Regions from separate parts of the Homo sapiens genome. Here region 2 is linked to region 1. The links are contacts of gene promoters, found by promoter capture Hi-C in human tissues and cell types (Jung and others, 2019). All regions are on one chromosome and are shown on one strand. The core of a region is centred on a gene start or on the middle of the fragment in contact, and the rest is flanking DNA. Distances in the headings are between cores, read along the strand shown. Region 1 holds the start of PRRT4 (proline rich transmembrane protein 4). Region 2 has its middle 20 kb from the start of HILPDA.

What was found. The method cuts DNA at HindIII sites, captures the fragments that hold promoters and counts their contacts. A contact is called where the count stands out against the background at its distance.
Region 2: a fragment that was not itself captured here is called in contact with the fragment with the promoter of PRRT4 in region 1 in 7 of the 25 tissues and cell types used here (IMR-90 fibroblasts, adrenal gland, aorta and 4 more).

Annotation. Positions count from the first base shown.
Region 1 is chr7:128,359,090-128,363,865 of GRCh38, reverse strand. PRRT4 (proline rich transmembrane protein 4) reads left to right here and starts at 2,176. Exons shown (of 6, transcript NM_001174164.2): 1 at 2,176-2,305; 2 at 2,444-2,560; 3 at 3,803-4,526; 4 at 4,613-4,717. The coding sequence starts at 3,875. RefSeq lists enhancers at 2,241-3,109, 3,110-3,978, 3,979-4,776. The HindIII fragment of the contact is 21,921 bases long and covers 1-4,776 here.
Region 2 is chr7:128,433,643-128,438,418 of GRCh38, reverse strand. It overlaps the pseudogene RPL37P16. Among named protein-coding and RNA genes, the nearest start is that of HILPDA, 20 kb to the left of the region's middle. The HindIII fragment of the contact is 6,008 bases long and covers 1-4,776 here.

The DNA of each region.
Region 1 (4,776 bases), core at 927-3,426:
ACTGGGTCATGGAGGATTGCTATCTTAATGTACTGGGATATGTTTATTTCTGTCTTTCCACTTAGAAGTCTTTAAGTGAACATGATTAGCAGGAAATGGGCTTTTCTATGAGGAGGATTCAAAGAAAATGTCTCCAGTAGGATAACTTTTATTAAGCATATGAGAGAAAATTAGAGGCTGAATCCCAGTTTGCAGCCTCCGGGCAGCCCCTAATGGACTTGGGGGTGGGGGCAGGTTATGATAACCCCTGGGGGTGCATCTGGAGATGTCCTTTGCAATGCTTTGTTAAGGGACCTGGAATAAATCCCAGACTTTATCGTTGATGGCCCTGAGAGTAGTTCAGTTGGTGGCCTGATTTGATTTTACATGAATTGGCGGGGCTCTGTGATAAGGAAGATGCCTTTCTGAAAAGCAACCCATTGCCCATATGGACCCCAGAACCATTCATCATTATTCACTTATCAAATAGGCATGGACCATATCCACAAAGTGCTAAGCTAGCTCTCAATTACTGAGACAGAATCTGCCCTAGGTAACTCTTTAAGCAACACCAGCACCCGCCCCCCGCCGCCCCACACCCTGCAACTGCCACAACCTTCAAGAGAAGAAGAGAAGGGATATAGATGGAAAGGGAATTCAGGGTCATATAAAAGGCTATAACATGGTGACAATAATTTTTCTGTCTCTGTGGCTCGTGGTGACGAATAAGTAAGGAGACTCTTATAAAGCATCCACCATCATTCTTGGCACACAGTTGGATGTTTAGATTTTGAGGGAAAGTTTTAAATGGTGCAGGGAGACAGAAGTGTTTCATGTTCTGATACTTTTAAATTACTATCATTGTTTGAAGAAAACATGAAGGGATTTAGAGACTCAAAACCACATGAATGAGTCAGTAGTACTTCAGTTAGTCACTACTACAACTTAACAGGTTCCATGAAGTATACATAGTGACTGCTCGGTTTTCTTGGTCATCTTCAACCTGTGTCAGCTTTTGCCTGAGCTCTCTTACTTTCTGTGAAGGGGCACGCTCTTTTTTCTTTGTTTTTCCTTTTGAGACAGGGTCTTGCTCTGTTGCCCAGGCTGGAGTGTAGCGGTATGATCACAGCTCACGGCAACCTCCACCTCCCAGGCTCAAGCAATCCTCCAGTCTCAGCCTCCCAAATAGCTGGGACTACAGGTGTCTGCCACCATACCCCATCACGCCCAGATAATTTCTTTCTTTCTTCTTTTTTTCTTGCTTGCTTGCTTGCTTGCTTGCTGTTTGTTTGTTTTTATTTTATCTTTTGCTATGTTGCCCAGGCTGTTCTTGAACCCCGGGGCTCAAGCGATCAGCCTGCCTCAGCCTCCCAAAGTGTTAGAATTACAGGCGTGAACCACTGAACCCAGCCTTTGATTTTACTGTTCTCCTCACACCTCTTACTAGAAACCAGTTGTAATCCACTTCTCACAAGCAGCTTAGCTCACCATTCTTTCTGGCAGACATTTCTGAAACAGTATTTTTGAGAGATCAGTTTTAGCGAAAAGACATGTCACACAGGGATTGGCATTTGGCAGTTCACCGGTGAAGTGTTGGAGGCACTGCTGTGTAGCAGTGCAACTGTTGAAAACCACCAGGTGGTGGAGAGGGCCGGCAGGGAGACGGTTCGAGTTTCTACCAAGCTGTGCAATCTTGGGCAAATTCGGTAATTTTCTGTGTCTTCATTTAATTGTCTGCAAAGTGGCGACATACACAGGGTTGCGGTGAGGACTCATGAGATAAAGGAAGTAGAATTGTCCATTGTACTTCTACTTAGCAAACGGTGGGACTCTTATTGCCCGGGGTGCCATCCTGGGGCAGGCTGCCATGTGTGCGCGTGTGTGCGCGCGCCCTCTGACCTGCGAGTGTGTTTCCTGGCGCGCGTGTGGATGTGTGTGCTGGGCCGCCCTGGGAGTGTGTGATTGCTCTCGCCAGGCTCACAGCGAGGCGCCCGCCGCGGCTGATTGACAGCGCTGGGTGAATGAGCGCGCGTGGAGGCGCCCGGCACCGAGGTGGCCGCGGCTCCGCGCTGCTGTGAGCGCCTGCCTGCCCGCCCGGGTGTGGGGGGACCGCGGGTGGCGGGCTGGGTGGGAGGAGGAGGAGGAGGAGGAGGAGAGAGGGCGCGGGAGCGAGGGCGGGCGGACGGGAGGGCCGTCAGAGCCGGCTGCCGCGGAGCCCCGGCGCGGGCGGCTTCGCCGGGGAGCGAGGCTCGGAGCCAGGAGGCGGCGCCGCTGGGAGGGAGCGCGGAGTGCGGAGTGCGGAGCGCGGGGCCTGGCCGCCCGCCTGGTGAGAGCGCTGCGGGCCGGGGCTGGGCCGGGGGCGGCTCAGGGGCAGCGGGGCGGCGAGGCTGCGGTCTCTGGACTAGGCGAGGGGCCGCCGGGGGCTGGAGGTCCGGATCTTCAGTCGGGGCGCTGGGCACAACAGAGAGAAGCGGTGAGATACCACGAAGCGTTGCCCAGCTGGGCGCCAGGGCCGCCACGACCGCCCCTTTTCGGAGGCTCGGCGAGGAGACCTGCCTGCGGGAGAGACCCCGGGGAGCAGGTCGGCCGGTCCGGGCTGGGGGTGTGTGTGCGTGTGCGCGCGCGTGTGTGCATGTGTGCCTGCGAGGGGTGGTGGGCGTGTACGAGTGTGGGGGGATGGCGGTGTGTGGCATGTCTGTGTGTGTGAATGTGTGTAGGGGGTGTGCATCTCTGTACAGTACATGCCGTGTGTGTGTGTGTGTGTGTGTGTGTGTGTGTGTGTGAGAGAGAGAGAGAGAGAGAGAGAGAGACAGGGGAGGCCGGGGGCTCACAGAGCTTGGGTTTGAACCCATGCAGGGAGGAGAGTGGCTCGGCAGGACGGAGTGTGTGTGTGTGTGTGCGCGCGCGCGTGCAGGGGCAGGGGGGTATGTGACGGGTGAGTGTGTCACGGGCGCTAGATGTGGCTATGTGTGTGATGTAAGGGTGCCGGGTGCATGTGTGTCCCTGGCTCACCCTCCCTTCCCCCACCAGATGTGTGCGCACAGAGGAGAGAGTTCTGGGGAGGGGGTAGGAGTCCGCCGCAGCTGCCTGCAGTTCGCCCAGCTTGCCTGCCTGGCGTTCTCCTCCAGGAAGCCGGAGATCGCCAAGCTGCCCCTCCCCCGAATACTTCAAGGGTCCTAGGGAAGGGAACAGGCCCAGCCCCAGGAAACGGGAGGGGCGGGAGGGAGGGTGCTTCTGCCAGATTGGGAACCTTGCTTCTCTGGCCAGAGCCTGGGCGGCCTTCTGACTGGGCCAGATCACTCAGCTCTGGCTTTACCCCTCCCGAGGCCCTGTGCCCCCTGGGGTCTGAGAGTGAGGGCGCCAGCACTTCTGGCTGGGGCGGGAGGTGGGGGTTGGAATAGGTCAAGACATCGGAAGGGCTTGCTTGTTCACAGTTATATGCCCAGAAGGGTGCTTGGCAAACGGTAAGCCTGCGTAAAGACTTGAGGCTCAGCAGAGGGAAGGAAGAGAGGAATCCATGTCTGGAAGCCCAAGTCCATCCCTTTTGCTACTAGTTAAGGATGAGGGCCCCTGGTTGCAGTCAGACCCCAGCTTCTGCATGAGCAGAGGGGGAAGGAGGAACCCCCAGGCAGGGATTTGTGCTGGGGCCTGAAGGTACAGGAAGGGCCCGGCAAGAAGAGCCAGAGCCATGGACAGGACACTTTGCATCCTGCCCACACTACCTGCTTCTCTGAGATCAGAAGCCTCTCTCTGGGACATCCGATCCTGGGAAAGGGAAGAGGGGGGCCACAGCCAGGGCTCACAGGGCCTCTCCTCTCTCCAGGACCTTCCTCCTCAAAAGCTGCTGAACAACTGAGTCCCTGCCCACCAAGGCCACCCGAAGCCAGGTGGGGCCATGGCCAGGCATGGCTGTCTAGGGCTGGGACTGTTCTGCTGCGTCCTGTTTGCTGCTACTGTGGGCCCCCAGCCCACCCCCTCCATCCCAGGTGCCCCTGCCACCACTTTGACCCCCGTACCTCAAAGTGAGGCCTCTATGCTGTCTCTCAACCTGGGACTTAACTTCAAATTCCATCTTCGGGGACCTGCTGCTGTCTGGGGGAGCCCAGTCACAGAGACCCAGCCACTCTCTCTTGGGCCAGGCCAGGAGCCAGGGGAAGAGGTGGCCAGTGGGCTGAGGACTGACCCCCTTTGGGAATTGCTGGTGGGCTCCTCAGGGAACTCTCTCACTGAGTGGGGCTCCACCGAAGGTGGCTCAAAGCCCCGGGCCTCCTCCCTGCTTCCGGAGTCCACATCCCGGCGCTCTGGGCCCAGCGATGGGCCCACTGCCCCCTATCAGCCCAGGAGGAGCACTGTGACCTGGGACACTGCTCTGATGGTGACAGCACTTCCATCCAGTGCTCCCAGGCCCCACCAGAGCGAGCTGGAGCTGAAGTTTGACATGGCACTGAGAGCAGGTGCAGCCCCCACGCTTGGGCATCGAACGCTGCCCCTGCTGCCCAGCCTGCGGGCCAGCCTGGCAGAGATTGCTGGGCGCCTGGGACCCTTTGGTGAGTAACCACCCCATCCCAAGGAAAGCCCCTGCTGGGCACCCCTGGCAGGTAGGAGGCAGCTTCAGCCTGGGCTTCTTTTGCAGGATTCTTTGGCACTACTCTGTCCCCACTCCGGAACTTCTCCGGCCTGAGCCCCCCAGGTGAAACTACATCCACAAGCTCTGCCTCTGGAGTTTCGGGTTCTCTGGGTGAGTTTATTTCATTGCAATAAACTATTGTGGAACACTCTACGTGCCAAGCGCTGTGC
Region 2 (4,776 bases), core at 1,110-3,609, 74 kb before region 1:
ACCCCTGAGGTCAAGTGGTCCTCCTACCTTGGCCTCCCAAAGTGGTGGGACTTCAGCCGTGAGCCATGCAATGGGCCTATACTTTTTAGATTCCGTACAAAGGAAGAGTATTCTGGACATTTCATATAAATGAATAATTTAATATATGACCTTTTGTGTCTGGTTTTGTTAATGGATGGTACTGTATAGTTCCAGGCTCTTGGTGTCCCAAACAAAGAACTGGACGTGACACAGATAGCATAGCAAAGCAGCAAAAATTTGTTATGCATAGTAACACTCCCAGAGAGGAGAGAGCGGGCTGACCCGCAAGTGGTATCAGTCCCAGTTTGTTACATTTCATGGCCTTTTATATGTTTTTTTTTTCCACTTGCTCAACCTTACTGTATCTCTTTTGACCAAATTGTTTATCTTTACTTTTATTTTTTGTGACCAAATTGCTACTGCAAGTCCTTCTTATTTTTCTTATCTTGCATGTTTCAACTCACTGCTTACTCCCTTATGTACATACTGCTTACTTCCTTATTTTATATATTCTACTTCTGCTATTTTGCATGTTTTGCTTTTGCTACTGCTTAAGCTAACTTACGTCCAAGGATCCGCTTCGCCCCCAGCTTGCTCTGCTATTCTCCTGCCTTAGTTTCTTCCAACTTGCACAGCGTTCTCAAGTTTCATCTATGTTGTAGCTTGTATCAGAATTTCATTCATGTTCAAGTAATATTCTGTTGTATGGATATACCACATTTTGTTTACCCATTCATCAACTGATGGACATTTGGGTAGTTTCCACCCTAGCTATTATGAATAAGGCTGATATGAACATTTGTGTACATGTTTTTGTGTAGATATATGTTTTCAGTTCTCTTGGATCTACAACTAGGAGTAGAACTGCTGGGTTATGTGGTATCTCTGTGTTTAATATTTTGAGGAATTGCCAAACTGTTTTCCAGAGTGGCTGCATCATTCTGTAATTCTACCAGCAATATATAAAGGTTCCAGTTTCCCCACATCCTGTCAACACTTGTTATTGTCTTTACTTTTTTAAATTTTAGCCAGCCTGGTGGTTGTTAAGTAGTATCTCATTGTGGATTTCATTTGTATTTCCCTAATGACTAATGATGTTGAACATCTTTTTATCTGCATATTGGCTATTTGTAAGCCTCCTTTGGAGAAATGTTTATTCAAATTCTTCACCCAGTTGTAGCCGGGCATGGTCGCAGGCACCTGTAATCCCAGCTACTTGGGAGGCTGAGGCAGGAGAATTGCTTGAACCCGGGAGACAGAAGCTGCAGTGAGCCGAGATCACCCCACTGCACTCCAGCCTGGGTGATGAGCAAGACTCTGTCTTAAAAAAAAAAAAAAAAAGTGGCTGGGCACGATGGCTCACGCCTGTAATCCCAGCACTTTGGGAGGCTGAGGTGAGTGGATCGCCAGAGGTCAGGAGTTCGAGACCACCCTGGCCAACATAGTGAAACCCCGTCTCTACTAAATATACAAAAAATTTAGCTGGGCGTGGTGGTGGGCGCCTGTAATCCCAGCTACAAGGGAGGCTGAGGCAGGAGAACTGCTTGAACCTGGGAGGCGGAGGTTGCAGTGAGCCGAGATTGTGCCATTGCACTCCATCCTGGGCAACAAGAGCGAAACTCCATCTCAAAAAAAAAAAAAAAAAATCCTGTGCCTATTTTCAAATCAGGTTATATGACTTTTTATTTTTGAGTTGTAGAAGTTCTTTATATAAAGAACTTCTGGATACAAGTCTCTTATCAGATACATGATTTGCAAATACTTCTCCCATTCCATAGGTCCTCTTTCTTTTAAATGTTATCTTGATTAAGTATAAAATTCTAGTTTGCTAGTTATTTACTTTTTTTTTTTTTTGAGACAGGGTTTTTGCTCTGTTAACCAGGCTGAATTGTAGTTATGTGATCTCAGCTCACTGCAACCTCTGCCTCCCAGGCTCAAGCAATCCTCCCACCTCAGCCTGCCAGGTAGCTGGGACTACAGGCATGCTCCACCATGCCTGGCTAATTTTTTTTTTTTTTTTTGGTAGACAAGGGGTTTCACCATGTTGCCTAGGCTGGTCTCAAACTCCTGGGCTCAAACAAGCTGCCTGCTTCAGCCTCCCAAAGTGCTGGGATTACAGGTGTGAGCTCCCATGCCCGACTTGTTATTTACTGTTATACATTTAAAAATATTCCTTTGTCATCTAGCTTCCTTGATGATAGAAGGTGAGGGTTTTATGTCATTCATTGCTTCTGGACAATTCCAGCCACTATCTCTTAGAATATTGCCTCTCTCTATTCTGTTTTCTTCTTACAGTACTTCAATTGGATGCATGTTCATCTTACTCAGTCTGGTCTTCATGTCTCTTAATATTTCCTTCATATTTTCCAAGTTTTTGGCCCTCTCTGCTTCATTCTATATAACTTTTTATATCTTGTAGGGGAGGGGGTTTGGCCTATTTTTGTTTCTGTATTTTTTTTAATTCACTAATTCTGTCTTCTGTCCTATCTAATCTGTTGTTTAACTTGCCCATTGAGTTTTTAATTTTGATTATCGTGGCTTTCAGTTTTAGATGTTCTATTGATTTATTTTTTTCAAATCTCATCTGTTTTGATAGCATATGGCTCCTTTGTCATGTTTTCAGTTTATTTTTATTTTTCTGTAAACATTTTTTAAATTCTTATTTTTTACTTCATACCTAATAATTCTGTTATAGGAAAATGGAAAGGATATTATGCAGCTGTTTCTTGGGTATGCTGGCATTTGCTCATGTAGGCTTGTTTCTGTGTGATTTATTTTTTGCATTTGAGCTTTACTTGTCCAAACTTTTTGTGTGGGAATCATACATAGCCTGGGTTAACTGCAGCTCCTCCAGAGAAGCTTTGCGCAAAGCTTCTTCAAGGAACTAACAATCCACCGCTAATGTTTGTTCATGTTTGATCTTGTGTTTGCCCATACCAGGCACAGTATGCATTCTGTTTGCAAATACGCCTGAAGCCCAGGATTGCAAATTCTCAGTGGAAATGTTTTTTCAGGTCCAGAATTATGGCTGAAGCAGATACATTTTCCCTTTCTCCCCCTTTTGTTGATGGGCCCCAGCTTTATGCCAGGCTTTGGTTATTAACATTACTGAACAGCCCCCTCCCCGTCCCCGCCCACCCAAATCCAGCCACAGCTTCAGGGTTCTCATTTCTTTGCTTTGTTTGTTTGTTTGTTGTCCCTGTAGCTTTCCCTTCCTCCTCCACCCTCAAGCTCTGCTATGCATTTAAAGGAATGTTTGTCATGCTTTAGGTGGGAATACTGTCTGATTATCTAGTTCCTATACTGCCTGAAATTGAATCCAGGGGGAAATAGTACAGATACAAACGCAGATAATTTCTAGTGTTCTCAGCCCCACTGGAGCCCATTATGGATCCATGTGCTCCAGAAGATGAGTTAATCAGACAAGATCAGGCATTCAGGGTGGTATGGCTGTAGACAGAAGATGAGTTAATCAGATAATGGAATTCCTATGCTATTAGATAATTGATGTATGACCTCTCTGGGTAAATTAGAACCTTGACCCAATCAGAATGCACTAGTTGTATTTTTTAATTTTAATTTTTTTATTTTTTTATTTATAGAGACAGGGTCTCAGTGTTACCCAGTCTGGTCTTGAACTTCCAAGTTCAAGTGATCCTCTTGCCTTGGCCTCCCAAAGTGTTGGGATTAAATGTGTGAGTCACCACACCCAGCTTTATTTATTTATTTTATGTATTTACTTACTTACTTTTAGAGACAGGGTATCTCTCTGTTGCCCAGGCTGGAGTGCAGTGGTGCAATCATAGCTTGCACCTTCAACCTCCTGGGCTCAAGTGATCCTCCTGAGTCAGCACCCTGCCCCACTCCCAGTAGCTGGAACTACAGGTACGTACCACTGTGCCCAGCTAATTAAATTTTTTTGTTTGTAGAGACAGGGTCTTGCTTGGTTGCACAGGCTGGTCTCAAACTCCTAGCCTCAAGTGTTCCTTCCACCTCAGCCTCCCAAAGCACTGGGATTACAGGTGTGAACCGCTACAGCAGCCTAGATAGAATGCATTATTTTTAAGAGGGATTATATGGGTTGGCTGTGTCCCCACCCAAATCTCATCTTGAATTGTAGTTCCCATAATCCCCATGTGTCCTCAGAGGGACCTGGTGGGAGGTAATTGAATCATGGGGCAGTTACCCCCATGCTGCTGTTCTCAAAATAGTGAGTGAGTTCTCATGAGAACTGATGGTTTTCTTAGGGGCTTCTCCCACACTTCTTGCTGCCACCAGGTGAAGAAGGATGTGTTTGCTTCCCCTTCCACCATGATTGTAAGTTTCCTGAGGCCTCCACAGCCATGAGGAACTGTGAGTCAATTAAACCTCTTTATAAATTACCCAGTCTCCAGCTGTTCTTTATAGTGGTGTGAGAACAGATTAATACAAGGGGTTTGAAGATGGGTAATCAGTGCTAAATCTTGCAGGTGGCCAGGAGGAGGGATGTTAGCCACAAAGGTTTGTTTTTCTGAGACCCTTCAATCAGTTACCCTCATGCTTAATTTTCCTACATGGAGCTTTAGGGGAAGCCATGAGGAACATGGTGTCTGACGCATAGTAAGTGTTCAATAAATATTTGCTGACCAGATGTAGTGGAAGTGCCTTATCTTCCAGTCTGTTTGGTCTCAGCTGCAGAAGTGAGATGATGAAGGGAATCTCATCGTTTGGAAAGCATCACAGTAAGACACACACATTGTGCCACCACTGTGGCTC